Regions from separate parts of the Homo sapiens genome. Here all the other regions are linked to region 2. The links are contacts of gene promoters, found by promoter capture Hi-C in human tissues and cell types (Jung and others, 2019). All regions are on one chromosome and are shown on one strand. Each heading gives the region's core, a stretch centred on a gene start or on the middle of the fragment in contact. The rest is flanking DNA. Distances are from core to core; before and after follow the strand shown. Region 1 overlaps HCN4 (hyperpolarization activated cyclic nucleotide gated potassium channel 4). Region 2 holds the start of HCN4 (hyperpolarization activated cyclic nucleotide gated potassium channel 4). Region 3 overlaps LOC124903571 (serine-aspartate repeat-containing protein I-like).

What was found. Contacts are between HindIII fragments. The study calls those that stand out against the background at their distance.
Region 1: a fragment that was not itself captured here is called in contact with the fragment with the promoter of HCN4 in region 2 in 1 of the 25 tissues and cell types used here (spleen).
Region 3: a fragment that was not itself captured here is called in contact with the fragment with the promoter of HCN4 in region 2 in 5 of the 25 tissues and cell types used here (bladder, mesenchymal stem cells, mesendoderm cells and 2 more).

What each region holds. Positions count from the first base shown.
Region 1 is chr15:73,328,852-73,331,551 of GRCh38, forward strand. HCN4 (hyperpolarization activated cyclic nucleotide gated potassium channel 4) reads right to left here. Exons shown (of 8, transcript NM_005477.3): 4 at 722-940. Among named protein-coding and RNA genes, the nearest start is that of MIR12135, 30 kb to the left of the region's middle. RefSeq lists an enhancer at 1,041-1,944. The HindIII fragment of the contact is 9,003 bases long and covers 1-2,700 here.
Region 2 is chr15:73,367,378-73,370,386 of GRCh38, forward strand. It overlaps HCN4 (hyperpolarization activated cyclic nucleotide gated potassium channel 4), which reads right to left and starts at 1,581. Exons shown (of 8, transcript NM_005477.3): 1 at 109-1,581. The coding sequence starts at 893. The HindIII fragment of the contact is 7,967 bases long and covers 1-3,009 here.
Region 3 is chr15:73,423,042-73,426,031 of GRCh38, forward strand. All of the region lies in intron 2 of LOC124903571 (serine-aspartate repeat-containing protein I-like), which reads left to right. Among named protein-coding and RNA genes, the nearest start is that of REC114, 19 kb to the right of the region's middle. The HindIII fragment of the contact is 4,140 bases long and covers 1-2,990 here.

The DNA of each region.
Region 1 (2,700 bases), core at 113-2,612, 39 kb before region 2:
GAGAGGCCAGGGATGGCTCCTAGTCTCTGGCCTGGGCATCTGGGAAGAGCAGAGACTTGGAGTAGAGAGAACAGGGCAGCCTTCTCATTACAGACATGAGGGGCGTGGGGTGTCCAGAGAGGGATGAAATAAACCACCTGGAGCTGAGAGATGAGGTGGGGCTGCTGATGCTGTGCAGGCCCCACTGTGCAAAGATGGGCACAGAGCCTGTGGGCCTGGGTGGTGAAACCACAGCACCGGGGCCCCAGACAGAGGGAGGGTCAGGGGCGAGGCCCGGGCCACTGGGGACTCCAGTGGCAGTGACTGGGAAGAGAAGCCAGCAAATGGGGGCAGGGGACTGGCCAGAGGGGCAGGAGCAACACCGCGAGAGTGCGGTCCTGGAGAACGAGTGAGCAGCCAGGAAGGGCGTGGTGACTGTCAAATGCCTACTGGAGCAGCACGGAGGGCACAGGGCCTCAGCCAGGAGCCACAGGCCCCAGTGACACTGGAGACGGGGAAGGTGGGAACAGAAAAAAAGACATGTGGAGGGGCCAGGCCAGGGAGCTGAAACTCAGATTCTCATCTCAGAGGTGTCTCCCTCCTCCTGCTCTTCCCTCACACTGGGAGTTCCGATCCTGTGGGGTGGGAGCAGGGGGCGGTTCCTGCTGGGGGCCCACTGGCTGGTGGCCTGTGCTCCCTCTTGGGAGGGACCAATGTGCGGGTGCTCCCTGGGTAGACCTACCTTTTCCTGGTACTGGCGCCGGGAGGAGTCCAGGGACTGGATGAGGGCAGTGGCGTGGCCAATGAACATGGCGTAGCAGGTGGCACCCACGATCATGCTGAGCATGGTGAGCCAGACGTCGGACATGCCCACGGGCGCCTGCCGCCCGTAGCCGATGCACAGCATGTGGCTCATGGCCTTGAAGAGCGCGTAGGAGTACTGCTTCCCCCAGGAGTTGTTCTGTGGACAGACGGATGGGTGGGGACAGTGGATGAGAGGGAAGGCCCTTCTCACTAGCAAGAAAAGGCCCTGCCACCTCCTCACCTCAACCTAACTTTCTCAGTGGCTGGGCCCAGGGCTCCCTAACCTTGCTGTTGGCTGAAAGCCTTGGGTGAGAAGCAGCCTGTGCTGCCAGCGAGTCCTCCTCTTGTGCCTTCCTCTTGCAATGGGGGCAGAGATCAGACTGGAAGCCCCAGTAAAGGTACGGGAGCCAGCGTGGCCCAGCCCCCATGGGGCAGCTTGGAGCCTCCTGGCTGGGTAGCAAAGGCCCCGGGCTGAGCCACCGTGCTGTCCTTCCCTTGCTAAAACAGCTCCACCCCCCAACCCCCTAAACAGCTGCCAAGTGAAGCCCATTTCCCCACTGACCTCAATTATAAAACCAGATATGCTTCCCTTGGGGGGACAAGCTCTGGCGGACTGAGCCGAAAAACACTGTCCTCATTTTGGATGAGCAAAAGTTAAAGCTGTGAGCTAACGGGCCTCCTGCATGAACCCTGCCCGCCTCTGCTAGGGCTGCGGCCACCAGTTCTCCTCCCACTACCCCCAAGGCAGACTCTCCGGAACACACAAGGCGTGGGGACAGGAGGAGGGAAGCTCTTGGCTATTTTTGTCTACAAAGCCAGTCGGTGTCTCAAGGAAGGCTCAGCGTGGGAACACTGGGATCGGAAGGGCCATCTCTTGAATTTAGTGCATGTGTGGGCCTGCCACCCTCACATAGAGAGGACACTGCCCCAGATGAGGGCCCATTGAACCTGACGAATGCCAGCACTGGCCACCTCCCTGGTGTCTTTCTGCTCACAGGGCAGATGCATGAGCCACAGTGCAGAAACCTACCCAGGCCCACAGAGCACCTGCCAGAGGCCCAGCCCCCAGGGGAAGGCGCAGGAGCCCGTGAGCTTCGAGCCATATTCAAGGTCAGCCAGACTGCCCTGAACAGAGCTGAGCTGGCTCCTTGGGTCTGATGGCTCAGTCTAGACTGGAGTGGGGACCAGGAGGGCTCATCCCCAGGGGTGGAAGAGACCTGGGTTCCCAGCCTTGGGGAACAGGGGTAGGCCCCCAGCGGCCTTTACTGCTGAGCCTCTGGGAACAGGGAATTCAATCCATATGGCTGATTCATTTACACTTAGCTCATCAAAAGGCTGTTTTGTAAAGGCCTGTTTGATGCTGAAAGATGCCTCAGGGTCTCTTTCACCTCTTTCAAAGCCAATTTTTCCTCCCCTGGGGCCCTGGGAATTTGCCTTCAGAACAAACCAAACTGACTGGGAGGAAGCCTGGGAGAGGCAGGGGTTCACCAGAGACACAGAAAGGCTCACAGATCCAGGGTGTCTTCTGTCCTGCCTGGAACCCACCTCATCCACAGGGGGACTGGAAACTCTGCCCTATGGCTTCCGAGGCCCCAAGTTCAACTTCTCTCACCCACCCTGACCCACTTGCAAGGTTGGAGGGATAGGGTGGGGTCAGGCTTCATCCTGCCTGCCCTCCCTATCGGGACTCCACCTCGGATCAGGATATGTTGGCGAGTGGGGGCAGCCCAGCTCTGCTGTTGGAGTAGAAAGTGACCACATATGACCTGGGAGTCTGCGTGGGCTGCAAATAGTACCCTTGAAGGCGTCTGTTTTCTTGGGCTCAGCTTTTTGTTTTTTATTTTTATTTATTTATTCCTTTTGAGACAGGATCTTGCTCTGTCACCCAGGCTGAAGTACAAGCGAGCTCAAGGGATC
Region 2 (3,009 bases), core at 331-2,830:
CTCCCAGCGCAAGGCAGGAAAGTTAACTCCGGCTGGGAGGCAGGGTCAGGAGGAGGCATGCCTGCCACCGCGCAGGGCACCCACAGGATCATCGCTGTGGCCCCTTACCTGAAGTCACTGTAGGGGTGGATAATCCAAAATCCGGCCGACTTGACCCTCTCCTGTTCGCGCTCCACGGCTTTCTGGCTGCCGAACATCCTTAGGGAGAATTTGTTGACCCCGGGTTGGAGCATGGCCCCGAACTGGCGCTGCATGAAGCCGGCCTGGCCCAGGCGCACCTCGGCCTCCGGGAGGATCTGGTCGCCGGCAGCCGCGCCTCCCTCCACTTTGATAGCGGTGTCCACCGAGGGCTGCTCGCAGGAGGCGGAGGCCGGCTGCGGTGGCTGCTGGGGCGGCGGCGGCGAGGCTGCGGGCTGCGCCGAGGCGCCGGGGCGCTCGGGCTCGGCCGCCAGGCCTGGGGGCGTCCTGTCCTCGCCGGGGGACGCGTCGCCCTCGGCGATGAGCCGCCGCTCCTCCGCGGAGTCATGCAGGTGTCCGTGACTGCTGCCGCTCCCCGTGCCGCCGCTGCCGCCGCCCCGGCTGCCCAGCGAGGCCAGGCTCCCGCGGAAGCGCCTGCAGTCGCCGTTCGTGCTGGACTTGCCCGCGCCGCGGGCCGGCCCTTCGCTGTCCGCTGCCCCGAGGGCCGAGCTCCGGGACTCCGTGCCACCCGCGGCCGCCGAGGGGGAGGGCGAGGGCAGTGGCCGCAGCCGGATGCTCCTGCGGCTGGGGTCTTGGCGGCCCCCGGCCCCCTCCTCCTCGGCGTCCTCTTCCTCGTCCATGATCCACGCCTTGGCCCCCACCTGCTGCGGGAGGCTGTAGAGCCGCTTGCGCATGGACGGCGGCAGCTTGTCCATGGCGCCAGGGGCCGGGGTCGGACCGGGCCGGGGGCAGGAGCGCGGCGCCGCGGACGGGCTCCAGGTCCGCCCGCCGGTCAGTCCGCCCGTGGGGACGCGTCCTTTGCCGCCGGCGTGGGGGCAGCCTCAGGCGCCCATGCTTGGGCAGGCTGCGCGCCGCGGGGAGGATCCTAGTCCCGCTCCGAGTCCCCGGGCTCGCCGCGCTACACCTCCTCCCGGGCCCGGCTGGGCGCGGGGACCCCGCGCTCCCTTCTTGCCTCCCTCCCTCCCTCTGGCGTTCAGGGGCGCGGCGCGCCGCCCGGCTCCAGGCGCCCCGCCCCCGCGGGGAACAATGGGCGCCGGCCGGAGAGGCTCTGCGGCCGCGGCGCTCAGGGAACCGCTCCGGAGTGCAGAGCGCACGGCCCGCGCGGGTCCCGGGCGTGCGTCCCGCGGGAGGGCTGGCTGTCCGTCTGTCTCGCCGCCCGGGCTTTGTGGCTGGCCACCCGCGAGCTCGCCTCGCCTCCTCTGCCCCGGCCCGTCCGGCCCGTCCCGGGGCTCCCGCCGCAACCGAGCGGAGCCCAGCGACCCGCCGGGCTTACATCAGCGGCCGCCTCCCCCGAAGCGCCCTCCGGCAGCGCTCGGGCTCCCGCGCCCCGGAATATTCATGAAGCCGCCGCAGCTCGCGGGTTGCCATAGGAGCGGCTCCAGCAGCCGGGCCTGCCTACCTGGGCTTCTTAAAGGGGCAGCGGCGCACGGGCCGGGGGCTGGAAAGGGGCGGGGGGCGGGCCTGGCAAGGGGCCCAGGTTAGACCCTCGCTAGACCTTCGGGGCCGGGGTGAGAGGTATCCACACTGCTGCGCCCTTAAATCTCTTTCCTGGGCTAAGCTGGGAGTGCGCCCCAAGTCTGAAGCTCCGGCTTCAGTTGCGAATTCCCCATCCTAAGATTGAAGGGTGGGGGGTGGCTTCCCAATTTCTCCATCACCAAGCTCTGGGCTCGCCTTTCCCTGGCATTTTTGCCCCTCAGCTGGGTCTCCGACTTTCCTCTTGGGAGGCGACCGGGTTCGTCTGGATGCAGAGTCCCGGCCTTCCCGCAACCCTCCTGGAGAGGGGGCTTCCGGAAATGCGCCGCGTCGGGGAGGCTCCCACGGTTTTCCTGTGACATGGGCAGGGTGCGAACCCCGCGCCAGTCTTTCCCCTGCAAAGCCTCGCAGCAGCCAGGCAAGGAGGGCGTGGGGAAACAGGGAGACACGCACAGGGCGCGCGGGTGGGACCCAGCCCTTCGAGGTAAGACTTCGAGGAAATGCGCCGGCAACAGTGACGGATGCGAGATCCGAACGCCGACCTCCGCACGCGCCTCTCCCTCGGTAGTTCCGAGAAAGGGACAAGCCGGCTGCAGCGGGGAGCGGTTGGGCCGGTTCCTCGGACGCCCCAGCACTCTGGAACTGGCTTTGGAGCCCCTTCTCCCTGTGTTCCCATCCACATTATGACACCTACTATGTGGACCCACGCTGGGTGAGTTCCTGTTCCACCCAGTCCCCTACCTGCACCCCCAAGCAGCTGCACAGCCCCCACTCCCTTCCAGTCTGCAGCCCAGCCCCCTTCCCCCCAACCCCCGCCAAGGATCCAACTGTGTGTCCTCTCTCCCAGTCTCTCCCAGTGTACAGTGTCCGGGCTTATGGACAGATTTCACTAGCTCAGCCTAAGGTATAGCCCTACCCCCTCCAACACCATGGACAGCCTGATACCCCAGATTAGCTCAGAAATGGATAGGGGGACAGATTGGGCATTAAGGGGAGGGGAGTTGTCCAGAGAAGGCTGGAGCCGAGGTTAATGCTGGAGCGGACACACAGCAAAGTCTCACAGGAGGGAGGCAAAAAGGTCCCCTGGCTCTGCCATCTCTCTGAGGAATAACATCAAGTTTTTCTTCAAATGATTTTTTTACTCTCATTCTTAGCCCAATGTGACCACTTTCGCCTCCTCCATCCAGAGTAGGAATTTGGAGAGCAGGATGCGGGGCGGGCAGCCTAGCAGGGGCTCTTCTGCTCTACCCACTGGACCACAGGACCTCCCACAGTGAGAGGAATGACTAGGGTGATGACATCACTGGTAGCTGGCATTTTTACTTTTGAGCAGCTCTG
Region 3 (2,990 bases), core at 388-2,887, 56 kb after region 2:
TTCTTCTGCCTCAGCCTCCGGAGTAGCTGGGACTACAGGGGCCTGCCACCATGCCAGGCTAATTTTTTTGTATTTTTTAGTAGAGATAGGGTTTCACCGTGTTAGCCAGGATGGCCTTGATTTCCTGACCTCATGATCCACCCACCTTGGCCTCCCAAAGTGCTGGGATTACAGGCGTAAGCCACTGCGCCCGGGCCACCCCAGTCACTTCTTACTGATATCTGGTTGGCAAATGATACAATTTCAGAACCCCATATTGAGGGTCTGCTTCATAGGATCACTTTTGGCACCACCCTTCTTAGGATGAGAAAAGGATTTGAATGCAAGGAGCTTATTTGGAAGGTGTTCCCAGACCGCACTGGTATGAAGCTAGAGAAGAGAGAAAAGTAGAAGAAGGAAGTCAAGAGAGGCTCTACTAATGAGCAGATTTTCACCATGGACACCTCCTCCTCCCATTCATCACTGACTAAGAATCACTCCCCAGGATTTGCACTCCCCAGTACTTCTGGTTCAACCCATGGCATGGACCATGTAAAAGCCCACAGGTAGAGAATCACAGGTTTACAATGGGATACTATTAGTGTGTATGGTAATGATGAATGCTGGTGGGGTATGTGTGTGTCCTTAACTGTATATACTATCGTAGGCTAGAAAAAAAATTGTCCACCTTAACCACCTCACACAAAAGGAGATATCAAGAAAGCTTATCTTTTTTTTTTTTGCTTGGGCAAATGTGTGTGTGTGTGTGTGTGTGTTTGTATGTGTATGTGTGTGTCCCCTTTGAGAATCTGCAACCATAGATCTTTACTTGACATAGGCTTGCTATTTGAATTTATACTCCTTGATGGTCCAGAAACCCAAGGTAAGAAATTAATGTAAAATTTATCCCTGGCTAAGTGATACCCATGGAATGCTCAGCAAATGTGCATGAAAAAATAAAAAAAATTATATGACTTTAAACACCCAATAAAAGGAGAAATGATTTTTGATAAAGCCAAATGATGTTACATAATGCAGCCATTAAAATGATGCTTAGAACCGGGAGCTTGGGGGAGAGAGATAAAGAGAAGTTGTTTAATACTTGCAGAGATTCCGTTCTGCAAGATGGAAAAGTTCTGGAGATCTGTTCCACAGGAATGTGAATATACTTAACACTACTGAAGTGGATACTCAATAATGGCTAAGATGGTGAATTTAGTGTTATGTGTTTTTTTACCGCACAGGAAAAAAGAGAAACAAAGAGTTCTTAATGGTGAGGAGAAATGCTTATGGTAGAATGCTAGAGAGAAGGGGGACACAAAATTGTATAGACCATCTTATCCATCTTATCTCATCTGTGAACAATTACATATAATAGTAATTATATATTTTATATATAATATATTATATATATACATATATATGTATATATAACTACAGTGGAGGGAAAAGGTTTAAGAAAATATTTTAAAATACTAATAAAACTGCCTGGCAGAATTATGGGTGATTAATTTCATTTTATCTTCCTTTCTAAAAAAATCTATTTCAGTAATGTATCACTTAGGATGCTTTCAGTTGCAAGAAATGGAAAATCCAATTTGAAATGACTTAAAAAATGAAGGGGATTTATTGGCTTATGTAACTGAAAAGGCCAGAGGTGGGGTAAGCTTCAGGGCTGATTTGGTTCAGATGTTCTAGTGATGTCATCAGGAACCCATTTCCTTCCCTCTTTCTGCCCTGCCATCTCTGGCTCCAGCTTTACCCCAAGGCTGACTCCCTTCATGGTACCAGAATAGCTGTAGCAGTCCCAGGCTGTGCACCCACACACCATGCTGTCCCAGGGAAAGGACCCCTCTCTTGGCGGCTTTCAAAAGAAGAGGAAATTTCTTTCTCATAAGCCACAGATAACTGATGCTTAAGTCTCTTTGGCCATATTGCATCACATTTCCACCTCCGATCATATTATCCTGATCGATCTTAGCTTAAGCAGATAGGCTACAAGGTGCAGAAGATACCTGAAAAAATGTCTGGGCATTGTTAGGAAGGGGAGAGAAGAGAATGAATGCTGGCTGGACAGCTAACAAATACATGTATTTAAGCCTATTCCAAAATTTTAGAATAAATTTGTATTTCTCTGGGAAGTTCAAAAACCACAAGTGTAAAAATGCTCTTTTATAGAATATTATATATAGTATACTATAGCATGTATTACATAAGTTTATATAATATAAACATACAATATGTAAGTTATAAGTTTGTTATATAAATATATATTTATTATAATATATGATATATATTATATATTTTGTACATAATATATATCATAAGTTTCTATAATACATACTATAGTATACTATACATAATATATTTATATATGTACTATAATAGACTATTATATTACAAATATAATATAAATACCATAATAATAATGTTCTTTATGCAGAAAAAGTAACAAACCACCTTTACCAGCCTTTTACATAGACTCTATAGAACGAGGCTAGCATTCTGAAATCAGCTTTAACCTGACATTACAATTAAGGGTGACATTAAAAATATTTAATGAGCAGTATGGCACAGTTATCAATCAATCTGAGTGGGCACCCAAACAATGGGGGAGAGGATGTCACTGGCCATTCCACTGCGTTGGTGACCTCAGCCACAATCACAGTCATTATTACTTAGCAGTCACCATTAGCTCAGAGTATGACATAAAACTGTCCAGTTTACCTTCAGCCACCAGTGCTGGACACCCACTAGCCAAGGGATTCTCACTCACACCCAGTCCAACACTGCCAGGACAGAGGGATCCCCATCACCAGACACACAGTCTCAAGGGAGACTAGGATTATCATTGTCAAACACCAGTGGAAGCATGGGCTAAAGAGAATAAAAATAAAATCCAGCAAAAGCCTCCCTAGTCTTCTGTTGCATTTAATGAAGAGATACGACATTGAAGTCAAGACAAACCAATGTCAAAATGAGCTCAATCATTTACAGCTGTGTCTACTCCA